Regions from separate parts of the Homo sapiens genome. Here regions 2, 3 and 4 are each linked to region 1. Evidence: promoter capture Hi-C in 16 types of primary human blood cells and fetal thymus (Javierre and others, 2016). All regions are on one chromosome and are shown on one strand. Each heading gives the region's core, a stretch centred on a gene start or on the middle of the fragment in contact. The rest is flanking DNA. Distances are from core to core; before and after follow the strand shown. Region 1 holds the start of ZNF516 (zinc finger protein 516). Region 2 has its middle 15 kb from the start of LINC00683. Region 3 overlaps ZNF516 (zinc finger protein 516). Region 4 has its middle 39 kb from the start of LINC00908.

Evidence for each region. Contacts are between HindIII fragments. The CHiCAGO score rates a contact against its expected background, and 5 or more counts as called.
Region 2: a contact is called between a fragment that was not itself captured here and the fragment with the promoter of ZNF516 in region 1, in 3 of 17 cell types (monocytes, neutrophils and M0 macrophages). The highest score is 11.1, in monocytes.
Region 3: a contact is called between a fragment that was not itself captured here and the fragment with the promoter of ZNF516 in region 1, in 2 of 17 cell types (neutrophils and monocytes). The highest score is 5.8, in neutrophils.
Region 4: a contact is called between a fragment that was not itself captured here and the fragment with the promoter of ZNF516 in region 1, in 5 of 17 cell types (monocytes, M0 macrophages, neutrophils and 2 more). The highest score is 20.3, in monocytes.

Annotation. Positions count from the first base shown.
Region 1 is chr18:76,493,526-76,496,986 of GRCh38, forward strand. ZNF516 (zinc finger protein 516) reads right to left here and starts at 1,717. Exons shown (of 7, transcript NM_014643.4): 1 at 1,619-1,717. ZNF516-DT (ZNF516 divergent transcript) reads left to right here and starts at 1,814. Exons shown (of 2, transcript NR_164145.1): 1 at 1,814-2,261; 2 at 2,754-3,461. It overlaps ZNF516-AS1 (ZNF516 antisense RNA 1), which reads left to right. Exons shown (of 2, transcript NR_136504.1): 2 at 1-393. RefSeq lists silencers at 747-836, 1,537-1,636, 1,767-1,826. The HindIII fragment of the contact is 7,170 bases long and covers 502-3,461 here.
Region 2 is chr18:76,602,843-76,606,303 of GRCh38, forward strand. No RefSeq gene overlaps it. Among named protein-coding and RNA genes, the nearest start is that of LINC00683, 15 kb to the right of the region's middle. The HindIII fragment of the contact is 1,099 bases long and covers 1,195-2,293 here.
Region 3 is chr18:76,421,392-76,424,852 of GRCh38, forward strand. The region is part of intron 3 of ZNF516 (zinc finger protein 516); the gene reads right to left. Among named protein-coding and RNA genes, the nearest start is that of ZNF516-AS1, 69 kb to the right of the region's middle. RefSeq lists an enhancer at 1,854-2,355. The HindIII fragment of the contact is 5,680 bases long and covers 1-3,461 here.
Region 4 is chr18:76,565,701-76,569,161 of GRCh38, forward strand. No RefSeq gene overlaps it. Among named protein-coding and RNA genes, the nearest start is that of LINC00908, 39 kb to the left of the region's middle. The HindIII fragment of the contact is 5,091 bases long and covers 1-3,461 here.

The DNA.
Region 1 (3,461 bases), core at 467-2,966:
GAAAGAACTGACCTATTTTTGGCTGGAGATAAACGATCATGTTAACAGATGTTAATCTTGTAATCTGTTTTTCCTGTAAGCACTTTACCTAGCCGGGTTTCAGACCTTAAAAATAACATCTTTTCCAAAAAGACCTGACGTCACAATTCACTCCCTGAAAAATCACACTCCCCCTCCAGTTTCTTCCCCTGCAATGATTTCAAAGACATTAAATCTTTTCCACTTTATAAATGCTGATCTGTTCTGCCTCTACTCCCACAGGCTCTTATTTGCATTTCAAATTCCACAGGTTACACCAGTCGCCTTTTCAAAAAATGTAAACCAACAATGCAGCAGCAAATGGCTTTTTGTGCATCTGGATTAAATAAAGCACAGAATGAATATATTTAAAAAGAGGGCTGCGCAAGTTGATCTTTGCACACCCGGAGACCCGGTGACTCTTTATCAGCGGAATGAGTAAGACACACACACAGCCCCCAGAGCTCCCGGTCTGCTGCGGGAAGCTTATTAACGCTGATAATAGATGAGGCTGACTTACAGACCCACATTTTTCGGGTAAAAGGCTGGTTCCCTCTGGTCCCTAATTGCGGGGGTCCACTGGCTTTCCTCACCACACACATAAACTGCTGCTTTTAAATACCCCACTCGGCTGCCATTTAACAAACTTATTCATACAAAGTTTCGTTAAAACTTGAGGCGGTTTAATCTAAATACTGATCGTAACTATTCAGTCTGTTAGTTCTCCCTGGAAATGGCAGCGGAGGCGCCTCCCCCCACCTCCCGCCCAACCACACACACCCCACCGCATTCTTCCTTCATACACCCGGGTTCATCTCGCCACCGAGGCCTCCCCCACCCGCACCCGGCGGGGCGCAGCTCCGAGGAGTCCCTGCCCACCCCTCTCCGAGTCGGTGCCAGACCCTCGCCCCCACCCCCACCCCCGCCCGAACTTCCCTTCCAGGACCTCTCACTTCTTTAACGTTAGGGTCACTTAGAAGCTCCCAGCAGACTGGCAAGCAGCCGGGGAGGGGGCCGTAAAAAACAAGGCCACCCCCACCTCCACGCAAACACGTCCCCTAGGCAGCAGCGCGCGGTGCCCACAGGCATCGATCCCATCCGCCAAACCCTTAATAATTGAAGCGGCTCCTCGGGCCCGCAGCCCCATCACCCACCTTCATTAGCCGGAGCGTTTTACTTTAAAGTAAGGCAATTTGCTCTTTGTCTCCTAATGGATGGAGAGCGCATCCGAGCTCCCCTCCTCCCGCGTCGCCTTTGACAAAGTGTACAAAGCCAGAGCCTCTTCCGCGCTCCCACCCCGGCCCCCACCCCGCCCCTCCACTGCGGTAAAAACCACCTCCCGGGCGCTCGCCCCGCCGCCCGAAGTTGCATCTTCCCCTATCCTGGAATTGACGAGCAGAGCAACTACCCACCGGGAAAGCCAAGTAGCCCTCCCCGCGCCCGGGGGGCCCCTCCCCGGCGCACCCCCCTCCCCAGCGCCTCCCCCCCTACCCCCAGCGGCGCACACCAGAGTACGGGGCACGTCGGGGCTCCGGGCCCCGCGCCCACCGCCCGCCCGCGGCCCCTGCGGCGCAGCCCTCCCCCCGCCCGCGGCCCCTACCTTGGCAGGGAGGCGGCGGGCCTGGGGAGGAGGACGCGCACGCCCCGCGCATCTGAAGGTGAAGCCGAGCGCCCGCGGCGCGGAGCCGAGCGCTGCACTAGACCGACCGCGCCAGCTGCGCCCGGGCGCGGGGGACGCGCGAGGGCGCGCGGGGCCCGCCACGCGCCCGGCCCCCTCCTCGCGCCGCCCGCGCGCGCCCCGGACGCGTCCGCCCCGCGGGGGCCCCGGCGCGAGCCGGGCTCGGGGGGCTGCGCGGCACGGGGAGGGGGCCGGGCGCTCACGGCCCGGCGCAGGCCGGAGGCTTCCCCCAGCCTGGAAATGGTCTGCCCTGTAGGAAACGCACACTCCACTATTGTCTCATCAGCACAAAGTTCTGCCACACTGAGGGGACAGTCTGGAGGCTTGCAGTGACTCAGACACAGCCAATTCCTCCCCTAATAGCACTGAATCACGGTTCCAGCGGCCAGTGGTCGCCCCTCGTCAAGGTCTAAGGCTGCTGCAGCCCCGGCTCCCGGAGGCCGTTTCCGCGCGCACACGCGCATCCATACGTACAGACGTGCTCGGGATGCGGGTCCCGCCGGCGGGTACCTGGGCACTGCGCCCCATCTGGACTGAAATGGGGACACCCCTTCGGGGGTCCCAGGTGCGTGTGCATTACACACGGCGTAGCGTGTGCGTGTCACTCAACTTCCTGGTAAATGCCTCTGGGGGTGTTCAGATGCAGGATCAATACATTAAGTCCTGAATCAAGGGTCACAGAGGTCCCGCTGGAAAGACTTCAAACAGCGGCTCTGCCACCCGGCCATTTAAAAATGAAGGGGTTGTTTACCGGTAGCCTCGAAAGTTCAACTCTTATTTTTCTGTTCTTAAAACTTCATTTCTTCACCTCACCTACTCCCCACGAGCAGTAGTTAGTTGTAATAAGTTGAGTCTGGGACTAGAAATCCTAATTTGACTCCAAAACGCTCTCCTGTTACAGGGCAGGGATGGCCGGGGTGGGGGAGGGGAGGGCGGGCGCGCGGGGGCGGGGGAGGGGCGGGTCGGAGCTAGCGAGGGCGAGCGCCCCTTCACGGCCGGTGACGTAGACCCGGGGAGCTGCGGCCTGCGGAGGGGTAACACTATCTTCTCCCACCAGGCTCCTGGCCGTATTGTTCTCCTTCTCCTCGTGATAACTCCGCAGTGGAGGTGGATTCCGTCCAAGACGCCCAACGTGGCTCCGCGTAGCAATCAGCGCTGCAATCCTGGCGGTTACCTCAGCGGCGGCGTCTCTCTCTGCGCCTCACACTCGCAGCCCGCGGCCCTCCCCAACTTAGGGCGTTTACAAAAGAAACTACTCCAGACGCGCTGCAAAGGGAGGCGCATGTGCCCGAAAGCTGGCGATCAGACGGGGGGGGCATTCTGCATGTGTGATGTTTCTGGGGGCGGTGGGGAGTGTGTGTCGGGGTCGGGGGGCGGGGGGGAGTCAGGCAGAAAGACAGGGACAACCTCCGCTATGAAGGATCCGCGAGTCCTCAAATGTAAGCTCCGTGTGACTAACGACCTGCACTGATTTGGAGAGCGGGCATGTTAAAGGTCACGGACAATTGTTGCTGGCTTCAGCATGAATGCCTAAGTGGGATGTATTCTTCAGCAATCACGTTTAAGTCTGATTCACCGAAAAGTATTGACGTGCCCACCATTCATTTCAGTACACTGTGAAAATGCACAAAGAAAGTATCCCCAAATTCAGTTAATTACAAAGCCGTAAATGTCCTTGTATACACATATTATTACATACATGTAGGTAACAACAAAGATTAAAATTTGAAGACACTTTAATAGCTTTTTGGTAGGATTTTGGAAT
Region 2 (3,461 bases), core at 494-2,993, 110 kb after region 1:
GAGACACCAGCCTCCGGCTTTCAATAAATGTAGCCACAGATTACATTTGTGTTTTACAGTTTTGTTTGACTGTTTATGAGTAATTTCATAATACTCTTTACTGATTTTAAAGTGAAAAATAAACTTTTATCACAATACAGATTCTCCTTGACTGATGGGGTTACATCCCAAGAAACACATTATAAATTGAAAATACAGTAAGTCAACAATGCATTTACTATTCCTAACGTACCGAACATCGTAGCTGAGCCGAGCCTACCTTACGCGTGCTCAGGACATTCACACTAGCCTACAGCTGGGCAAAGGCTCTAACACAAAGCCTGTCTTATAATAAAGTGGTGAATATCTCATGAAATTGATTGACTGTACTCAGTGAAAAACGGAATGGTCCTATGGGTGCTCGAAGTAGAGACTGCTGAATAGGTTCCACTTTCACACCATCATCAAATGGAAAAATCCTAATCAAACCATTGTCACAGGAATGACGCCTGGCTGACAGGCCTTTTGTGCTAACCATTCAGAGTTAGAGAAAGTTAAAGAGAGTGTCCAGACATGGAGAATATCTTTGACCTAGATATTCGAAGAAGAAAACTAACTTATGGGCCGGGAAATTTTTGAGGACTTCAAAGGTGGTGGGTGACATGAGGAGGCACAGCGTGAGTGCCGGGGTGGCAATCCCAGGCTCTGGCCCATGCTCCTGCTCAGGAGGAGGGCTCCTGGGTCCCATTTGCTTATCTCCAAAATTGGGTTAACTAGATACGGTAATATCATTGAAGGACTTAGTTTATAAGTTTTCCAATTTATTGAACAATGCCTGTTCAATAAATGATGATGATCATGATTTCATTTGATTTAAACAATAGTTTGAGATAGGCAGGAGTGATACTAAAAATATTTAACAATCCACTGGGTATCAACCAACTAGCATGGACGAGGGATACGGTTGCAGCAGCCAGCTACACCCAGTAAATATTAACTGGTCTTGGAAATAGGTATTACTGCTGTTTTCCAAACAGAGAAACAGACACAGTTAATTGCCCCCAAATAAATTACTATGCATTTGAAATATGAGGACAGCTTGAGAGATTCAGAGAGATGAAATGTCTTTTACTGCCCTGCGCGTTGGGCGTTTGGGTTGGAATACTGCATAGAATATCTTCTGCTTCCAATGCACCTATCTTCTAATCTTTTAAAAGCTTCAGTGTGAAGTCTGTTTCATAACAGGCTCTGAGAAGCAGCATCCCATTTTCAAAATGGATACGTGCCTTGTGATCTCCAGCAACATTACATAATGAAATAATATCTGACCCTCTATATTGTCACCATTGACATGATATTTCAGCAGGGTGGGACCCAGCTGCCGTTTAGATCCAGCAAGAAAGGAAATGAAAACGATGCCGATACGGGGGTTTAATAAATGCATTCCTGTCCCCGCGCTCGTCTCATGGAGAATGACCCAGAGTTAATGCATGTATTGTGCATCCATGAATGTTTCAGGATAAATATTTAAACTACAGCTTGAATCACACAGGCTGGTGTTAAATTAAAGTCATTAGCTTCAGGGACTCTATTTCGGAAATGCACCGAGTCCATAAGTCACACTGTAATTCCAGTGATTTATACTGAACATACACCTATGCCTTTTTTTATTTAAATGCACAAAATGTGCTAAGCCCCGAGGCGTTTGCACTGAGATACATTTCCCATGTATGATATGCATGCCCTGCTACATAAGAATTAACTGCCCTCTTCCCAGCTACGTTATGGTGTTACTGATGGGACAGGCTGTGATATTCCTGTGTAATTTCCATTCATATTGTATTAAAATGTCCAAGATGCATTTTATGTCAAAGAAAGCATCATTTAATAAAATTATTCACTATTACCCCATATAGAGATGTCAGACATTACTAATATAATCCTGAAATGATTGCACAGAAGTATCTTTAGGCTGAGAGGCACAGTCCCTGTGCTGTAGTAGAAGTGGTTTGTTCACTCTATCCTCAGGTAACCGGTCCGAGTCTTGTTTGTTTTTACTCCATGTTTATATGGTGTCATCCCCACTGACAGACTTCTTTTTCCCTTATTTTCTCCTCTTAGTGATTCCACAGGCATAGAAATTGAAAAACATAACAAACAAGATGCCTTATTTCCTTGATTTTGTAACACTGTGAGTAATTTTCAGCTTCGGGATGCATAGAGAGCTTGTAAAAACATGCATTCCTGGGACCCCGCCTTAATGATTCAAAGTTAGAAGATCTAAGGAGGAGCCTAGGAGTCTGCATTTTCGACAAGCTTCCCAATATCTTTTTTAAACCTATGTACTGTGTAGGTCATGCTTTAAGAAGTATTGCTAAGTACATTAACACTACTTTCATAACTAGATTCAGTGTAAATTTCCGTTCCATTTTAAAGACGCCGCTAAGTCAAACAAGTCATATGAGTTTCACTGTCTTCTAATCTGTCACTGTTCAGCCTTCCCTCCTGCCCTTCATCATCTACCTATTCTTCCAGTCATCCGTCCATCAATCCATCCATCCATCCATCCATCCATCCATCCATCCATCCCTTGATCCGTCTATCTATTCTTCTATCCATCCATCCATTCACCTGTTCTACTATACATTCATCCATCCATCTATTCTTCTATTAATCCATCCATCAGTCTAGTCTATCCATCCATTCATCCATCCATCCATCCCTCCTTCTATCCATCCACCCATCCATCTATTCTTCTGTTTATCATCCATCAATCTATTACTCTATCGATCCATCTATTCTATCCATCCACCCATTCACCTATTCTACTATACATTCATCCATCCATCCATCCATTCTTCTATTAATCTATCCATCAATCTAGTCCATCCATCCATCCATCCATTCCACCTTCTATCCATTCACTCATCCATCCATCCATTCTTCTATTTATCATTCATCAATCTATTACTCTATCAATCCATCTATTCTATCCGTCCATCCATCCATTCATCTATTCTCCTATCCATCCATTCATTCATTATCCTTGTAATCATCCATTCATCTTGTCGTCCATTCCTACTGTAACCATTTCTGAAGTATTAGGATTCGGAGATTCTTGTCTTAAAGGGACTAAAAAACTTAAGAAGAGTTTATAATTAGCCATCTTGTTTTCTCCTTTTATCTATTACTAAAAATCTAAACAATGCTCTGCTTTAAACAGACAACAACATAAAAGTAAAACAAAATCAAAATTGTTGTCCACTTTACTTGAACTGCTTCCTATTACTTACATCCATGATGTCACTAACCATTAAAACTGAAGAGTTGTATTGAACTGTAATGAATCTAAGATCTTTATCCAAGTTACATGGCCTGAATGTGTGTGTCCTCTCAAAAATCACATGTTGAAACCTGATCTCCAATGCAATAGTATTACGAGGTGGGACCTTTGGGAGGTGATTAGCTTATGAGGGCTCTGC
Region 3 (3,461 bases), core at 405-2,904, 72 kb before region 1:
TCGAGCTTTAAGGAACAAGTCCCACGTCCTAACTGGTATCCTGGTCCAGTCCGTGAGGCCAGACTTTGTCTCAGAGCTGGAAAGCAGAGCCCGGGCTGAGCCCCCGTGAGTTCTGTGTTTGCAAAGCTGCCACCGGGTCCCTCCCCCTGCTCTCCACAGAACCTGCTAGACAACTCAAGGGTTTGCTTGAAGGGGAAATGGGGCATAAGAATTCCACACTAAGTTCCTGGAGTCTTTTCAAAACATCCAAGCCACAGGGAGCAGGTCCTATGGGTGAACAACATCCCAAAATAAACCTCATGTTTCACTATTACAGAGGGCACTACTTTACACTAAGTATCACCTATGTTTTGCCAACACCTCACATTTCTTTGATTTTACCTACAGTAAGAAAGTGTACAAAGTGCCACAACATAAGTATTTTCAAAGCAAAGACAAGTTTCTGAAAAAGTTTCCACAGATCTGAATCACACAGCGGGCCGGGTCTGGTGCCCAAGTCATCAGGAATTTCTCTGCCTCACACATGGATCAAACTGTATGACTCTGGCCATTTTAAGGCAAGTGTTTTGTTTTGTTTTGTTTTTTGTTTTTAATCTTAGAAATTAAATAATGCACCAGACTACCAGTGAGTATTATCGTTATTTTAAATATCTCCATGGCTACATGAGCAAGTGAAGGTAAATCCCAGAAAAATTCAGCCAGGGTATCTATGCTAGTATCACCCAATTGGAATTTGGTAGAGTTGCCTAGAATTCAGGAAGACACTACCATCAGCTAGAGATGTGGAGGACAAGCACTAAATAAGACACAGTAAACTGTTCCTGGAAAGGGCCCTGACCCAGCAAACCAGGAGACAGCTCCTGCCACAGCCACGCAGAAGAGCCTGCGGAGAGCGGGCCGGTCCCTCGGCACTCCCTGCACTGCGGCAGTAAGAAGCAGACCACGGTCTCCAGGGGCCTGACGGATGATGACCATGTACTCATACACTCAGGCTATGGAGCAGAGCTGCACCTGCAAACACGTGACTGCCCTAACTTTCCGGAAGCTAAATGTAGGATTCAGAAATATAGGTCAAAAGACAGTTAAAACAACAAGCACAACCTCAGAATTAAATCGACTAATTATGAGGCAGTTCTAAGGCTATAAGAGAAGTAGGACTCTGTATTTATGGAGAGATAGAGAATTAAAAGATACCCAGAAACCACCACTTAAACAGAAAGGGGTTATGAAGCAGACATACCCTAGCACAGAGCAAATAAATGGAGGGCTCCAGCCAAGGGGCAAGAAGCAGGGACGGGATGATGGGGGGCAGACATGGGGCACTGGGGAGGCATGGGAGGAGAAGATATGAATTCCATATATCTGGAGGATAGGACAAGCAGAAACTGCATATATTGTGGGCAGAACAGGTTAGAAAGAAATCTCCAATCGTAAACAATGACAAACTGGAATAGATAAGAAAAACCACCTAAATTAATTCTCCTCCATACAAATCCTTAAGAAAAGCAAAGATAATTTATTTCTGTCACCGGTTCATTTTTACCTGATAAAGGAAGACAAGATGTACTCTCAATATCACACTGAGCTCCGCAACTCTAAATCTTAATGCGTCTGGCCACCTGGAGTTTGCATGGAGACCCTGGGCTGTGCACACCGCAGGACTCTCACCTGGAACACTCGGAGACCCCAGGATTCAAGCACTCTGCAGCTGGCAGCACAATCTAACAGAGACCCATTAAAACGGATGTCCACAACACAATTTACACGCATTCTTTACAAGGGAAGGGATGCATATATGTTCCCAAAAGGAAAACAGCCACAAGTTTTACAAGCTAGGAAAGGAAAAGCTGCACAGATCAAATGCTAGGGTTCATGAAGTTCCTGTGTGGAGAGAAACAACACAAAGCCCTTCTTGCGTGTTCTCGTTAATAAGTCCGCAATGTGAACTGACAGTACCTTGCCTCAAACACCATTTAAGCAACAAGACGTGACAAAACATATGCTGGCAGGAGATAAGGCTCATCCCTGAAACACACGCAGGTGAAAAGGTTCCTCCTGAAACACACACATGCAGGCGAAAAGGTTCCCCCCTGAAACACACACATGCCAGTGAAAAGGTTCCCCCGAAACACACGCAGGTGAAAAGGCTTCCCCGAAACACACGCAGGTGAAAAGGCTCCCCCGAAACACACACAGGTAAAAAGGCTTCACCCCTGAAACACCCACACGCAGGTGAAAGGGTCCCCCCGAAACACACGCAGGTGAAAAGGCTCCCTCCTGAAACATACACACGCAGGTGAAAAGGCTCCCCCGAAACACACGCAGGTGAAAAGGCTCCCTCCTGAAACATACACACGCAGGTGAAAAGGCTCCCCCGAAACACACGCAGGTGAAAAGGTTCCCCCATGAAACACACGCAGGTGAAAAGGTTCCCCCATGAAACACATGCAGGTGAAAAGGCTCCCCCAAAACACACACGCAGGTGAAAAGGTTCCCCCGAAACACACGCAGGTGAAAAGGCTCCCTCCTGAAACACACATGCAGGTGAAAAGGCTCCCCCGAAACACACGCAGGTGAAAAGGCTCCCCCGAAACACACACAGGTAAAAAGGCTTCACCCCTGAAACACCCACACGCAGGTGAAAGGGTCCCCCCCGAAACACACGCAGGTGAAAAGGCTCCCTCCTGAAACATACACACGCAGGTGAAAAGGCTCCCCCGAAACACACGCAGGTGAAAAGTTTCCCCCATGAAACACACGCAGGTGAAAAGGTTACCCCATGAAACACATGCAGGTGAAAAGGCTCCCCCGAAACACACACTCAGGTGAAAAGGTTCCCCCGAAACACACGCACGTGAAAAGGCTCCCTCCTGAAACACACATGCAGGTGAAAAGGCTCCCCCGAAACACATGCAGGTGAAAAGGCTCCCCCGAAACACACACAGGTAAAAAGGCTTCACCCCTGAAACACCCACACGCAGGTGAAAGGGTCCCCCCCGAAACACACGCAGGTGAAAAGGCTCCCTCCTGAAACATACACACGCAGGTGAAAAGGCTCCCTCGAGACACACGCAGGTGAAAAGGTTCCCACATGAAACACACGCAGGTGAAAAGGTTCCCCCATGAAACACATGCAGGTGAAAAGGCTCCCCCCGAAACACACACGCAGGTGAAAAGGTTCCCCCGAAACACACGCAGGTGAAAAGGCTCCCCCGAAACACACGCAGGTGAAAAGGCTCCCCCGAAACACACGCAGGTGAAAAGGTTCCCCCATGAAACACACGCAGGTGAAAAGGCTCCCCCGAAACACACGCAGGTGAAAAGGCTCCCTCCTGAAACACACATGCAGGTGAAAAGGCTCCCCCAAAACACACGCAGGTGAAAAGGTTCCCCCGAAACACACGCAGGTGAAAAGGCTCCCCCGAAACACACGCAGGTGAAAAGGCTCCCCCATGAAACAC
Region 4 (3,461 bases), core at 584-3,083, 72 kb after region 1:
AGTACCTACAAAAAGGCAAATATACGTGAGAATGCTTTTATAGCAAAATCCTTGTTTGCAAAGGTAATGATGTTCTAAAACTGGAAAAAATGCAACTCAGGCAAAAGGAAGAAACCCTAGCGTGACTTTTTCTTCCTAGCTTTTGTGGGTAGTGAAGTTTTTCTCAACATGCTATCAGATTGGTTCCATTATTTAAAAGTATTTTTAACACAGGAAAAAGTTTCGTGTTTTGTATTTCGCAATGCGATTCGATCATCTTCCGCTGTTCCAGATGGTGGCTTGCACCGTGCAATCAGGCTGGATCTTACACAAGAATCCATTCCAAACCCTGAATAAGGGCCCAAGCCCAGAGAGGGACTTGTGTATCCATTGCCACAGGAGCATTACAGAAACATGCCCCCTAGGCTTGGACACCGTGGAATTCAGGGAGCAATTCTAGCTAGGAATAGTAGGGAGATAAAGATTTGTTGTTGTTGTTGTTGTTGTTGTTTGTTTTTTTGAGACAGAGTCTCACTCTGTCACCCAGGCTGGAGTGCAGTGGCGCGATCTCGGCTCACTGCAAGCTCCGCCTCCCGGGTTCAAGTGATTCTCCTGCCTCAGCCTCCCGAGTAGCTGGGACTACAGGCGTCCACCACCAGGCCCGGCTAATTTTTTGTATTTTTAGTAGAGACGGGGTTTCACCATGTTGGCCAGGATGGCCTCAATCTCTTGACCTTGTGATCCGCCCGCCTCGGCCTCCCAAAGTGCTGGGATGACAGGCGTGAGCCCCCGCGCCCTGCCATGACGGGACTTTCTGACGTGGCGCTGTGTCTGGGCTCGCCCTTTCCTCGGATCCCACCTCTCCGGAGGACGGGGAGAGTGCTGGGTAATCCTGGGAGTTCCTAAAAGCCAGCACAGAAGGCAGGGGTTTCTTTCTCTGGGGGACTTCGGAGGAGGTGGCCACTGGTCTGAGAAAGTCTAAGTGTAGGTTGGGACTTCGGTCAACTGGGACTTAACTATGCCACTCAAACTGGTGTGCATGCAATGCCACTTCTGCTGGGTCTGAAGAGGGAGGCCCTGCACCAAGGCCACGTTCATAAGACACAGGGTGGAGAAGAGAGATGGCATCCCATGGGGAGAGCTTGTCTCCCAAAGACTGGTCCATCTGTTGAAAGAGGCTGTCCTCTCCCCTTATTTCCTGAGGAGCTGCCCAGGAGGGCTCCCTGCTTCCCTCTGGCCTTCACATTGGCCACCGGGACCAGGAGGAGCCCTCCCTCTTCCCTTCCCCTACCTGTCTCTCTCTCTCTGTCTCTCTCTCTGTATCTCTTTGTCTCTGTTTCGCTCTGTCTCTCTCTCTATGCCTCTCTCTGTCTTCCTCTTTCTGCTTCTCGTTGTCTTTCTCTTTGTTTCTGTCTTTCTGTCTTTCTCCCTCTTTCTGTCTCTCTCCCCCATTCCCCCGTCTCTCTGTCTCTCTTTCTTTGTCTCTCTCTCCTTCTCTCTGTCTCTCTCTCACTGTCTCTGTCTCTGTCTCTTTCTGTCTCTGTCTCTCCCAATCTCTTTGTCTCTCTCCCTCTCTCTGTCTCTCTCCCCACCCCCACGTCTGTCTCTTTCTCTGTCTCTTTCTCCTTCTGTCTCTCTCTCTCTCTGTCTCTCTCTCTCCCTGACGGTGTGGTGCATTCTCTGACCCTCCCCTCCCCTCCTTACCTTTATGACTGGCAGGTGGAGAGACAGCTAGTGACTCTTCTGTGGCCCATCTTGGGATGTGGCCCTGGGCAGTACTCACTGGAGGTGGACAGGACAGCACTTGCCCCTGAGGGCCCAGCAGTCGGCTCAGGTCGCCCGTGTGCATAGAGAGGTGGAAGGTCAGCTTCCACTTCTGTGTTGGTTTCCCTAGACTCTGCCACAACAGAGCATCACAGAGCGCGAGTCCTAAACAAGAGGAATTTATTCCCCCACAGGTCTAGGGAGGAGAGGTCCAAGATCAAGGACCGAAGGTGGGTTCCTCCCGAGGGCAGGGTGGGAGAATCTTTCCAGGTGCCTCTCCTAGTTTCTGGTGGCTGCTGGCACTCTTGGGCATTCCTTTGTGTGAGGAAGCATCCCCTGGTCCCTGCCTTCATCTTCACAGGGCCTTCCTCCTATGCGCATGTCTGTCCCCGTAGCCACATTTTCCCTTTCCATAAGGACACAGTCATATTGGATTAGGGCCCACCCTATTGACCGCATCTTAACTTGATCATCTGCAAAGATGCTATTTCCACAGAAGGCCACACGCACAGATATTGGGGAAATCATCCAGCCTGCAATGACTGCCAAGGTGTGCTCTGCGCCTGGCTCGCCTGGGAGGAGCTCCAGAACATGGGGCAGAGGCCACTCAGGTCGGGAACAGACAGTAACACACCCCCTGCAGATGCCCTACCGTTTGGCCTATGATCCTTGGATCAGGGCAGCGATGCGTGAAGGTGGATATTATTATGACTCTAAAACCACACTGCCGTCCTGCCCCCAGGTCCACCTCAGAGCTAAAAGGGCCCCTTGATGCAGTTCTTGGGGCACCCGTGGTGACAGCCCACTGGATGAACCCACAATGCACCCCACACTGCGCTGGGCTCGAGCATCCTTGCTGTGAGGGTCCCCCTGCCTGAGCAGATCTCACCCTGCAGATGAGAGACACGTGTCTACCACCTAGCCAGGATGTGCAGAGGGGTGGCTGGGGTCTCAGTGGAAGGGAAGGTGGCTGCTGTCTTTCCTAGGGCTGGGAGCTTTGAAAAAGGGAAAAACACTCACTCCGCTGAATGCAGCTCTTGGGGGACTGGTGGGCCAACCCACAGGATAAGAACTGCATTGCAGGGGCCGGAGCCCAGGATAAGGTTCACAGTGCATTCTGAATTTCCACCTAGCATGGGCTCCAAGCACTGCGCTTGAATTTGAAATATCAAAAGTATCGGACCTCGTGGAATTGATACATAGGTGAAGCACTTTTCTTTCTTGGTTGGCAGAGTATAAAGTTCAGTAGTATTTGCCTGCGCATGACTGTCTTTTTCAAATGAGGAGGGGAGTGGGAGGCATGGAAAGGAGATGGTTTGTTCCTAACAAACTACATTCCAGAATGTTCTCTCCAAGGTTGGAGCCCTTCCTTGGCTGGAAAGCTGTGTGACTCTCCCATACTCTGAACAGGGCCATCTTCATGGCAGGCTTGCGGCTGCAGTCTTTCCTGTGGATTTGCACCAGAGCTGTTTGTACCAGGGGCTTGTTGCAACTCATCTTGCAAGGGGAAATCCAAAACTCAGAAATGACACAGCATTTTAGAGTTGGTGGCAAGGCAGGAATAGGATAATGGAAGAGAGATTCAAGGTCCACACAGCACTTAGTGTTTTGTTGTTTTTTTTTTAACTTAACTTATTGGGGGAATAAACTATTAGATTTTTATAACATATACTTTGGGTTGTTTGTTTGTTTTGAGATGGAGTTTCGCTCTTGTTGCC